Regions from separate parts of the Homo sapiens genome. Here region 2 is linked to region 1. Evidence: promoter capture Hi-C in human tissues and cell types (Jung and others, 2019). All regions are on one chromosome and are shown on one strand. The core of a region is centred on a gene start or on the middle of the fragment in contact, and the rest is flanking DNA. Distances in the headings are between cores, read along the strand shown.

What was found. Contacts are between HindIII fragments. The study calls those that stand out against the background at their distance.
Region 2: a fragment that was not itself captured here is called in contact with the fragment with the promoter of TIMM17B in region 1 in 1 of the 25 tissues and cell types used here (lymphoblastoid cells).

The regions. Positions count from the first base shown.
Region 1 is chrX:48,896,172-48,901,888 of GRCh38, forward strand. It overlaps TIMM17B (translocase of inner mitochondrial membrane 17B), which reads right to left and starts at 1,597. Exons shown (of 6, transcript NM_001395498.1): 1 at 1,553-1,597; 2 at 588-687. The coding sequence starts at 1,578. It overlaps PQBP1 (polyglutamine binding protein 1), which reads left to right and starts at 1,759. Exons shown (of 7, transcript NM_001032382.2): 1 at 1,759-1,911; 2 at 2,321-2,405; 3 at 5,019-5,130. The coding sequence starts at 2,339. RefSeq lists enhancers at 1,113-1,262, 1,293-1,492, 1,783-2,152, 2,203-2,422. The HindIII fragment of the contact is 10,729 bases long and covers 1-5,717 here.
Region 2 is chrX:48,084,557-48,091,151 of GRCh38, forward strand. No RefSeq gene overlaps it. Among named protein-coding and RNA genes, the nearest start is that of ZNF630, 16 kb to the left of the region's middle. The HindIII fragment of the contact is 3,925 bases long and covers 1,640-5,564 here.

The sequences.
Region 1 (5,717 bases), core at 347-2,846:
AAACATGGCCAGGCACAGTGGCACACGCCTGTAATCCCAGCACTTTGGGAGGCCGAGGTAGGTGGATCACCTGAGGTCCAGAGTTCAAGGCCAGCCTGGCCAACATAGTGAAACCCCATTTCTACTAAAATTACAAAAATTCGTCAGGTCTGGTGGCACATGCCTGTAGTCCCAGCTACTTGGGAGGCTGAGACAGGAGAATTGCCTGAACCCAGGAGGCAGAGGTTGCAGTGAGCCAAGAGCGTGCCACTGCACTCTAGCCTGGGCAACAGAGCAAGACTGTCTCAAAAAAAAAAAAAACTGTCTGGCTTTGCACATACATTTAAAATTTGGTGATGACTCTTTGAACGACACAGCATTTCCACAGAGGAGCTCCAGTTGGGTGGGGTGGAGGGTGGAAGACAGAGGCCATGTTTGCAATCCCTACAAAATCCCAGATACAGGAGCCAGGCTCGGCACATAGTAGGTGAGTGGGCACCAGAATGAATAAGTGCACGTGACTGGCAGCTCCAAGCAGTTTTCAGAGCAGCCTCCCTTGTGGGCAAGATAGCTAACCCCACACCAACCCAGGGAAGGCCTGGACTCACAACAGGGGCATTGCGGAAACCCTTGATGGCCTGGAAGACTCCGCCACCGATGACACCCATAGTGAAGGCTCCACCGCAATCATCCACAATTCGCCATGGGCTGCAAGCAGGAAGGGAAGGACGGGGTTAATGTGAGCCCTCCCCCAGGTCCTGTCACACGAACTCTTTTCTAACTGGGAGAAACCAAGTCACCAGAATGGGAAGTTCCTAAGTAGGAACAAACACTTCAGATAATAATGAGCTAGTTCTGTCACGCTTTTTCCACACACCCCCCCATTAAAGCGAGAAATGGGGCAAAGGGGGAGAAATATTAGTCTTCGCCCTGTCTACCAACCAAGGAATCAGCCAACGGTTTTACTGTGATCAAAGATTAAATGAATTGGCACACGCAGAGTTGACGTTTCAATAAGCGACATAGGCGTGTTAACTAGCCAAGACAGACTGTCAGCAAAGCAGGACCGCGTCGCACCCCTTCTCCGACGGTGAGCCCGTCCAACCATGCCCCGCCCCTTTTCAATCCGGCACAACTGGGAAAAACCAAGAGCGACCGCGGGAAGCATCCACCGTCCCCGCCGGCCCTCAACAGGTTCATCCGTGCCCCGCCCCCCACTGACAAAGGCGACCTGGGAAAAACCACTGGCGGCAACTCTGGGGATTTCCGGTCAACACCGTACCACCCCTAGCCGGGATGGATCGTCCAGCGTGTCTTTTTTCGTTAACAGGGCTAGGAGATTACGAAGTCAGGAGAAACATGGCGTGGTTCGGCCTTCGCCGCACCTTCTCTGGTTGTGGCCCCTCATAACGGAGCCCGAATGACAGGAACCGAGTGGGGGTAGCGGGAGATACGTTAAGAGTCCCCCGAGTCTGGTACATGGCTCTGTGCGGCCGATGCCTCCCCCGCCCGACCCCCACGGCTGGCCTTGGCGTCGCAGCAATATTCCGGATGCCTGTGCCCATTGCCGTACCAGGGCTCCCGAGCGTACTCCTCCATGGCGCTGGCGTCTGGCCGCGCAGTCAGGCCACGCCCCCAGCGTAGACGCACACCGGCGTCGGAGCTTTCCGCCTATTACCGGGCAGCGATTGGGTCGCTATACCGCATGTCACGCCAAGGACGCACTCTCATTGGCCAATCGAGTTTCTGCCATTTGTTCATTGCCTCCTGAGCGTAGTCCAGTTACTTTCAGGCTCGGGGAGTGAAGGCCTCGTTGAGAGAAGGTCTCATTCGGTGTTTTGGGAAGAGAGTCGTGTGGGCCCAGGTATCGTAGCGGCGACACGAGAGAGACGGGCGGTGTGACAGCCTTCCACTACCTGCACGAGTGTATTGGTAACGTTGGGGTGGGTGCACTCTTTTGGAGCTGGAGGAAGTGCTGCCCTCTGCTCCCCCATCCCAGCGCTTTGGTTTCTCCCACCCGGCAGTCATGGGGACGCTGGATGAGCCCATTTCTGAAGTGCGGAGGGGCCGGGCTTCTTAGGCTGTGGGCGGAGCCTGGGCCTGGGAGAGGAACAGGGCCCTGGAGCACCTGGTTTCGGGGACAGTAGGGTTGGTGGGAGTTGCGATGATATTGCCACCTACCTCTTACATCTTTTAGTGCGTATGTTCTGTCCACCCAGCTACTGGTTCATTTGAGTAGATCGGAGTCAGATGAGTACATGTTTACGGGAGGCGCTTGGTTACGGGATCCAGATAGGAATCTTTATCTGAGCTGCTTGTCAGTTTGTTCGTCTGTCCCTAGGTCTGTCTGCTATCAGCTATGCCGCTGCCCGTTGCGCTGCAGACCCGCTTGGCCAAGAGAGGCATCCTCAAACATCTGGAGCCTGGTGAGACAGCTAAAAGCAGATGGTCCTAACACGTGCCAGCCTCGACAGGCACTTTTGTTGTTGATACTGACGCTTGATACCTAGCATGGGCCAACTGTGCACCAAGCAATGGGGTGGCAGGCATTTTTCGTTGTTAACAATGTGGATTCCTGACATCCATCCCTACCGCGTGTCAAGTGGAGGGGGTTGGGGGAATAGATATTTCATTCTTTTTTTTTTTTTTTTTTTTTTTTTTTTTTTTTTTTTTTGAGGCAGAGTCTTATTGTGCACCCAGGCTGGAGTGCAGTGGCGCGATCTCGGCTCACTAAAACCTCCGCCTTCCAGGTTCAAGCGATTCTCCTGCCTTAACTTCCCGAGTAGTTGGGACTACAGGCACGCCCCGCCCCACCACACCTGGCAATTTTTTTTTTTTTTTTTTTGAGACAGAGTCTCGGTCTGTCGCCCAGGCTGGAGTGCTGTGGCGTGATCTCGTCTCACTGCAACCTCCGCCTCCCGGGCTCAAGCGATTTTCCTGTCTCAGCCTCCCAAGTAGCTGGGATTACAGGCACGTGATACCACACCCGGCTGATTTTTGCATTTTTAGTAGAGACGGGTTTCACCATGTTGGCTAGGCTGGCCTCTAACTCCTGACCTCAGGTGATCCACCCCCCACCCTTGGCTTTCCAAAGGGTTGGGATTACAGGCATAAGCCACTGTGCCCGGCAGATATTTCATTCTTAACAATACTGACTGGCTGGGCGTGGCGGCTCAAGCTGGCATTCCCAGCACTTTAGGAGGCTGAGGCGGGTAGATTGCTTGAGTTTAGGGATTAAGAGATTAGCCTGAGCAACATGGCAAAACCCCGTCTTTACAAAAAATACAAAAATTAATCGTGTGTTGTGGTGCATGCCTGTAGTCCCAGCTACTTGGGAGGCTGAGGTGAGAGGATCTCTTGAGCCTAGGATGTCAAGGGTGCAGTGAGCCGAGATTGTGCCACTGCACTCCAGCCTGGCCGACACATGGAGACCCTGTCTGAAAAAAATCCAAAAAAAACAACAAAATAATACTGACCACCTAATGCCTATTTGGGGCCTACTGTATGCCAAGTTAAATCCCATGGATTACTCTATGGGGGTGATGACATAGTATCTAATAGGAAGTACTGCTAACCTCTACTGCTGTCTCCTGTGTGCCAAGCGTAGTTGCAGTGAGGATCTATCATTTAGGCCTACTGTGCTCTGGCTGCAAATCACACCTTATTATCAGTAATACTAAAAACTGGCATCTATTTGGGGCTATAGTGTGCCAGGCACTGGAAAATATATCTTCTCCTTATTGATAACTGACATCTATTACAAGCCTACTGTGTGCAAGGTATAGACCTTGTGGTTAATAAAATTGTCAATGATCCCAGGCCGGGCAGGGTGCCTCATGCCTGTAATCTCAGCGCTTTGGGAGGCGGAGGTGGACGGATCACGAGGTCAGGAGATCGAGACCATTCTGGCTAACAGGGTGAAACCCCATCTCTAATAAAAATACAAAAAACTTAGCCGGGCGTGGTGCCAGATGCCTGTAGTCCCAGCTACTCGGGAGGCTGAGGCAGGAGAATGGTGTGAACCCGGAAGGCGGAGCTTGCAGTGAGCCGAGATCATGCCACTGCACTCCAGCCTGGGCAACAGAGAAAGACTCCATCTCAAAAAAATAAAACTGGCAATGATCATTGATTTACTTTTTTTTTTTTTTTTTTTTTTTTTTTTTGAGAGAGTCTCGCTCTGTCACCTAGGCTGGAGTGCAGTGGTGCAGTCTTGGCCCACTGCAACCTCTGCCTCCCGGGTTCAAGCGATTCTCCTGCCTCAGCCTCCCGAGTAGCTAGGACCACAGGCGTGCTCCACTGTGCCTGGCTAATTTTTGTATTTTTTAGTAGAGATGGGGTTTCACCATGTTGGCCAGGCTGGATTTTCTTTTAAGCCTATTGAATGACCTGTGCCTATGGTATATATATTATTTATTATTTGTTTAGAGACAGGGTCTCACTCTGTTGCCCAGGCTGGAGTGCAGTGGCACGATAATAGCTCACTGCAAGCTCAAAGTCCTGGGCTCAAATGAGCCTCCTGCCTCAGCCTCCTGAGTAGTTGGGACTACAGACGTGTGCCACTGTGCCCAGCTAATTTTTTTTTTTTGTAGAGACAGGGGTCTCACTATGTTGACCAGGCTAGTCTCACAGACGGGTTTTCACCATCTTGGCCAGGCTGGTCTTGAACTCCTGACCTCGTGATCCACCCACTTTGGCCTCCTAAAGTGCTGGGATTACAGGCATGAGCCATCACGCCTGGCCAAGATGAGTAAATTTTTTGATGAATCCCTATCAACTCTGAAACCAGATAGCTTTGGCTAACAGTAGAACTCATCATCTGAACCCAGACACAGATTTAGGTAACCTTTTTTTGTAAACCTCCTAATATAGAGAGTTGGATTTGGAATGTGAAAGATACTTCATATTCTTCCCGGCACACACACACACGTGTCTTTTATGTGTGGCTTGTGTGAATGTGAGTGCGTGTCTCTAGGCTCTACATGTAGGATGAGGTCCCCTGGTCCTTATCTGCTCTCCTCATCCCCACCTTGTTCTACCAGAACCAGAGGAAGAGATCATTGCCGAGGACTATGACGATGATCCTGTGGACTACGAGGCCACCAGGTTGGAGGGCCTACCACCAAGCTGGTACAAGGTGTTCGACCCTTCCTGGTGAGCCTGGGTGAGGGGGAGCTAACTTCTGGCTTCACCCTTCCTGTGCTGACCTTGGTTGTGAGGTTTAGGGGGACACAAGGGAGGGAGCCTCGGGTGGAGGGTGTTGGCATTAGGTATCTGCAGGACTCAAGTTGCTGCCTGCTGGGGCCTGGCTCCTCTGGGGTTGGAAGACTGTCTTTTCTCTCTTTTTTGAAACGGAGTTTCACTCTTGTAGCCCGGGCTGGAGTGCAATGGTGTGATCTCGGCTTATGGCAACCTCCGCCTCGTGGGTTCAAGCGATTCTCCTGTCTCAGCCTCCCAGGTAGCTGGGATTACAGGTGCACACCACCACACCCAGCTAATTTTTGTATTTTTTGTAGAGATGGGGTTTCATCATATTGGTCAGGCTGGTCCCGAACTCCTGACCTCAGGTGATCCGCCTGCCTCGGCCTCCCAAAGTGCTGGGATTACAGGCATGAGCCACCACGCCCAGCTGACAGTGTTTTCTCTTCAGGAGAAGAGATTCTGGGGATCCTGCCTGTGGGGTCCTGACATGGGGCAGGTATAGGCAGAGACTGGGGAGACAAGAGTTGAGGATCCAAGGC
Region 2 (6,595 bases), core at 2,352-4,851, 810 kb before region 1:
CCCAATGTTTGAGGCCACTATATGGACTTATTAGAGAAAGGAAACATTGAGACTGAGACACGTCACAGCAGGGAGCTTTGAACAGGCTAAAGTGCTAGTATAGCAGGTGCAAGCCTCAGGCACCCCTTTAGAGGGAGTAGAGATGACTTTGGATGTTACTGCTACTCCTGTGGGCAGGAGTTGGGCCTTATGGCAACCACGGTATGGTAAATCAATCCCTTTAAGATTTTGGTCACAATTACGGAAAGGAGCGAAGCCAGATACTGAAAGGAAATTTTCCCTGACCCCTTCACAGGCCTCATGACAGGGGTGCCTTGCTTACTCAGCCCACAGCTCTCAACCCCTTGTGGGATGGGAAGCATGCAGGTGAGCTCGTGTAAGAGCCAGGGAAAGTGCTTTAGGGTGCTGGCAGGAGCAAAACTCTGTGCGTGCCCCAAGGCAGCATCTAAGGAGGATAAAACTCCCGTGGGCCCCCAAAACCCCAGGGCATGCATTACAGTGAGCTCTTTTAGCTTTACTGCCCGAGGATGGCTTAAGTAAGTGTTTAACAGCTCAGTGAACCTTCTGCCTTTTCGTGAGGGCAAAGGGTCAGTGTGACAGCCTTTTTGTATTCCGAGCTCTTGTCCAGCATCCAGGAAAAATCAGATTGCACGAACGAATTGAAGGATAACAAATGCAGGGGATTTTATTGCCGATGGAAGTGGCTCTCAGCAGGAAAGGGAGCTGGAAAGAGGAAGGAGCAGGAGAGTATTCTTCCCCTGAAGTCTGGCCATCTTCAGCCAGACTGTTCTCCAAAGTTCTGCCATCAAGCCATCCCTCTGAAGTCAAACTGCACCTCTCCAATGTTCAGCTGCTTCTTTTCTTCTCCCCTTCTCTGCTCTCTGCCAGTGGAGCCTGGGGTTTTTATATGTACAGGATGGAGAGCATGGCGGGCCAGGGGTGGTTTTGGAAAAGGCAACATTCGATCAGGAAAACGGGGATGTGAAGTTCTCACTTTGGGCTGCGGTTCCAAGCTTGAAGGTGGGGCCCTCGTCAGGGACTCCACTTCTTCTGCCTAGAATTTATCTGCCTCCTGTCCCTATCAGTACTCTCCCATTGAACAAGTGCTAGCAGTGTATGCTTTACAGAAGGTGGAATAATTAGCAAAGACCCTTCCCATGACTGTGAGAACTGGTCTACCAATCAAGGGATGTATAGAAGGATTATTTAAATCACCCACCTCCGTTTAAATCCCAAACACCTATCTTGAATAAATGGCATGCCTGTTTGCAACAATGAAGTGTCCTGGTAACCAATCCCTTAAGCCGAGAATTGCATGCTGTGTTAGGCCTTGTTATATGTGAGCAACCAAAGGACATCCCTTTGCCCCTTCCTACCCCAGTGTGTGACTCGATAAGCAAAGGAGTGTTATGCATCCCTGATCATGCTTGGTATACAGATGGCTCCAGCAAGGGAAACCCCTGTACTTGGACCGCTGTTGCTATATGACCACAAACTGATACAATCTGGCTTGATATAAGTACCCATCACAGTAGACAGTGGGCTGAGTTGCAAGCTGCTTGGTTAATAATCACACATAAGCCCTGGCCCCTGGCTCTTTGTGCTGATAGCTGGGCTACATTCAAAGGCCTAATTATGTGGCTAGCCCAGTGGCAACAAGAAAAATGGGTGTTTATGCACAAACCCATATAAGGCATGAACATGTGGCAAGACACATAGAGAAGCTGCAACACCTTGCAGCTGATGAAATAGTTGGTATTTCATGTAGTGGTACACAATAGGACTCAGTTCCAGGAAGTATAGAAGCTGACACCCTAAGAACAATTAGAAGCATTGTGCTCTGTCCCAGGCCAATAAATAGAGACCTGTGTACATAACAAAAGTAGTAGTCATAGAAGTGCAAGAGTAGGCTTGGAGATAGCCAAGAAGGCAGGATTGCCCTTAAAATATACTGACCTCCCAATAGCTGTTAAAAATGTTGATATGGTTTGGCTCTGTGTCTGCACCCAAATCTCATGTTGAATTGTAATTCACACATGTCAGGGGAGGTGGCTGGATCATGGGGGCGGTTCCCCTATGCTGTTCTCATGATAGTGAGTGAGTTCTCATGAGATCTGATGGTTTAAAGGTGTTTGGCAGTTCCCTCCTTGCTCTCTTTCTCTCCTGCCACCATGTGAAGAAGGTCCTTGCTTCCCCTTTGCCTTCTGCCATGATTGTAAGTTTGCTGAGGCCTCCCCAGCCACATGGAGCTGTGAGTCAATTAAGCTTCTTTCCTTTACACGTTACGCAGTCTTAGGTAGTTCTTTATAGCAGTGTAGAAACGGACTAATACAAATGTATACCACATTCTTGATTCCATCCACACTATATACCATACCATGCAGGACACACTCATAGGGCTGTCTACCCTATAACAGATCAGCAAATGAATTATATAGGGCTTCTTTTTGTAAGTCAAGACAAAAAGTATGTATTGGCCTGTGTAGATACTGCTACTGAACTGCTGTAAGTTTGTCCTTGTAAGTGAGCTAATCAAGCCAGTACTATTAAAGGTTTAGAGGCTCTCAGTACTATGTATGGATATCTTTGACACATTGACAGTAACCAAAAGACCCATTTTGCTGGACATGATGTGCAGGACTGGGCCACGGAACACAACAGATCATGGCATTTTCATCTCCCATGTAACCTCCAAACAGCAGGGTTCACTAAAAAGAAAACTGGTCTTCTGAAAGCACAAATTCAGTTTCCTGGGGAGGCTGAGCATGGTGGCTCACACTTGTAATCCCAGCACTTTGGGAGGCTGAGGTGGGAGGATCGATTGAGGTCAGGAGTTCGAGACTAGCCTGGCCAACATGGCGAAACCCCATCTCTATTTAAAAAAAAAAAAATACAAAAATTAGCTGGCCGTGGTAGCACACACCTGTAATCCCAGCTACTCTGGAGGCTGAGGCAAGAGAATTATTTGAACCTGGGAGGCAGAGGTTGCAGTGAGCCAAGAGCATACCACTGCACTCCAGCCTGGGCAACAGAGCGAGACTCTGTCTCAAAAAAAAAAAAGTTTCCTAGGGAAACCTACAGTATTAATCCGTTCTCACATTGCTACAAAGAAATACCTGAGACTGGGTAACTGGAAAAGAGGATTAATTGGCTCACCGTTATACAGGCTATGCAGGAAGCACAGCAGCTTCTGCTTTGGGAGAGGCCTCTGAAAGCTTCTGATCATGGTGGAAGGCAAAGGGGGAACAAGCATCTCACATGGCAGGAGCAGGAGCAAAAGAGAGTCAGAGAGGAAGTGCTACACACTTTTAAACAACCTGATCTCACAAGAACTCACGCACTATTGTGAGGATAGTACGAAGGGGGTGGTGCTAAACCATTCATGAGTAATCCACCCCCTTGATCCAATCACCTCCCACCAGGCCCCACCTCCAACATTGGGGATTACAATTTGACATGAGATTTGGTGGAGATACAGATCCAAACCATATCACCTATCACCTACCTTGCTAGAGTGGATGAATGTGTGATCTGCAGGGCTTATGTATTTAACTTCAGCCAAAGCAGGATGCTTGCTCCATATGACTTGTTGGGACCACCGTACCCCAAGCCTACCACTATTTGCATATGGGTAACTGAGAAGACCGCTTTGCTCCCAGACCTGATTGACAACCAGCATATTTTGTGCATAACAACACTGACAGATATACTGTCAGGGGAGAGGACACTGCACTGGGGCTTAGAATGGCAAATACCCCCAGGCTGGATAGGCTATTTCTTGCCATAGATGGGGGAATATCCTCAACAGTTAGAGTGGTTCCCATTGCTCCTATTGAATACTGGACCCATGATCACCCGCTATAAATGGTTAGGGGAAACAGTATTATAAGCGAACTAACACAGGAACAAAAAACCAAATACTGCACGTTCTCACTTGTAAATGGGAGCAAAACATTGAGTACACATGGACACAAAGAAGGGAACAAGAGACACCAGGGCCTACTTGAGAGTGGAGGGAGGGAGGATCGAAACACTACCTATAGGATACTAAGCTTATTGCCTGGGTGATGAAATAATCTGTACGCCAAACCCCTGTGACATGCAATTTACCTATATAAGGAACCTGCACATGTACCCCTGAACCTAAAATAAAAGTTTTTTTTAAAAAAAGAAGCACAAATTCAAACTTTCCTGGAGAAACCTACCTTGCAAAGGTGGATGAATGTGTGATCTGAAGCCCTTATTTCTTTAACTTCAGCCAAAGGGATGAGGTGCCTGCCCCATGTGATAGGTTGGGACCACCATTCCCCAAGCCTACTATTTTTCACATACGGGTAACTGAGAGGACTGCTTTACTTTCAGACCTAGTTGACACCCACCATATTTTCTGCATGAAGACAGTGACAGACATTCTACCAGAGGAGGGGACACTGCACTGGGGCTCAGAATGGCAAATACACCCAGGCTGGATCGGCTATTTCCTGCCAGAGATGGGGGAATATCCTCAACAGTTAGAGTGGTTCGCATTGATCTTATTGAATACTGGTCCCCGATCACTCATTATAAATGGTCAGGGGAAGCATATATACCCCATGGCATGGTGGTGAGCTCTCTAATATGGTGTACTCTCAATCAAATTACTTTGACCACGGCTGCTGACACTTCATCCTTGGGCAACATGGTTGGTATATGGCCCCTTTCCCTTTACAAAAGCCAAGAGCTGACTCTATACTAACTACTCTAAATGAATGGACTGGTGTATTCTGACAGATGGAAAATAAATTTCCTTGCAAATACCCACTAAGTTTGTTTCCTTTCATCCTTAGTTGTCATGTTCTGTCAATACTATCACTAGCTGCCACCTAGGAAGCAAACCTTTTCCTACAATGGGCCCAAGAGTATGCTGTTGGCTTACAGAAAAACATCTGTTGGGGCCGGGCACAGTGGCTCACACCTGTAATCCCAGCATTTTGGGAGGCTGAGGCAGGTGGATCACTGGAGCTCAGGAGTTTGAGACCAGCCTGGCCAACATGGTGAAACCCCGTCTCTACTAAAAATACAAAAATTAGCCGGGTGTGGTGGCAGGCGCCTGTAATTCCAGCTACTCAGGGGGCTGAGGCAGGAGAATCGCTTGAGCCCAGGAGGCGGAGGTTGCAGTGAGCTGAGATCACGCCACTGCACTCCAACCTGGGCAACAGAGCAAGACTCCATCTCAAAAAAAAAAGAAAGAAAGAAAAAAAGAAAAACATTGGTTTGGTATGCGGCCTCATGCCACTCTCCCATGCTTCTGGCCTGCCGTGGTGGGTATCTCCTTTCCAAGGATGAGATTGGAGAGACTATATAACACAAATGACCAATTTCTCAGACTGAACCCCTGCGTTGAATGCTGTAGTTGTTACTGGCTTCATAGCTGGCTTCGGTCCTGGGGCACCTGGTGGCAGAAGCTGCTTCTTGGTTTAGGTGTTGTGCTCCTATGTTCCTTACTGTCCTGGTTTTGCCTTTACTGTTGCTGCAGCATTTTCCTCCAATAAAGCCAATGAGCTGCTGCTATAGCTATACAATATCAAGCACCCTCCCTCTAGACCCAGGGACTATCAAGGAACAGGTGGGCACGTGAGATTGCAAGGACCAGTACTGAGGAGTGGAGTGTAGGTATACAGCCTGCTGCATGGCCAGAGTGATTTCATCTTGAAGGGAAAATATCATGATGACAGATGTTTGACTCCCGCATACCAAGGTATTTGGCAACAAGGTCTTTAAACATTGGCCGTAGCGTAGATAATGTCTCATAAAGATGCTTATCTAACCTCTCCAGTGGTCAAGAGTTTCTGCAAGAAAGTGTGAGACATGGCCAGGTGCTCATGTTTAGCATAAAAATTTTCTATAGAAAGTAAACTTTCTGGAGGACGGGTGTGGGTTCCACCCTCTTGCAGCCACTGGACACATAGCTTCTGTTCAAAGGTCACCATTAATTGTTTATTTCTGAGAAACTCGATTTGTCAGCCTCTTTCTTTGGCCTCTCAGTGCCCTTGGCCTTTGAGGGTAAGTTTACATAGAACTGCTCACCACGGAACAATACCAATGTGCCCAATATATTGTCTTTCTTTCTAGAGCAATTACTACAACAGTAGGAAATAAAATGTTACAAGGTGTTGTCTTTCTTTCTTTCTTTTTTTCTCTCTTTCTTTCTCTCTTTCTCTCCCTCTCTCTTTCCTTTCTTTCTTTCTTTCTTTTTTTCTTTCTTTCTTTCTTTCTTTCTTTTCTTTCTCTCTTTCTTTCTTTCTCTCTTCTTCATTTCTTCCAACACAGAGTCTCACTTTATTGCTTAGGCTGCAGTGCAGTGCTGTGATCTTGGCTCGCTGCAACTTCCGCCTCCTAGGTTCAAGTCGTTCTCCTGCCTCAACCTCCCGAGTAGCTGGGATTATAGGTGCCCACCACCATGTCCAGCCAATCTTTGTATTTTTAGTAGAGACGGTGTTTCACCATGTTGGCCAGGGTGGTCAGGAACTCCTGACCTCAGGCGATCTTCCCGCCTTGGCCTCCCAAAGTGTTGGGATTACAGGCGTGACCTACCATGTCCAGCCTGCTGATCTCT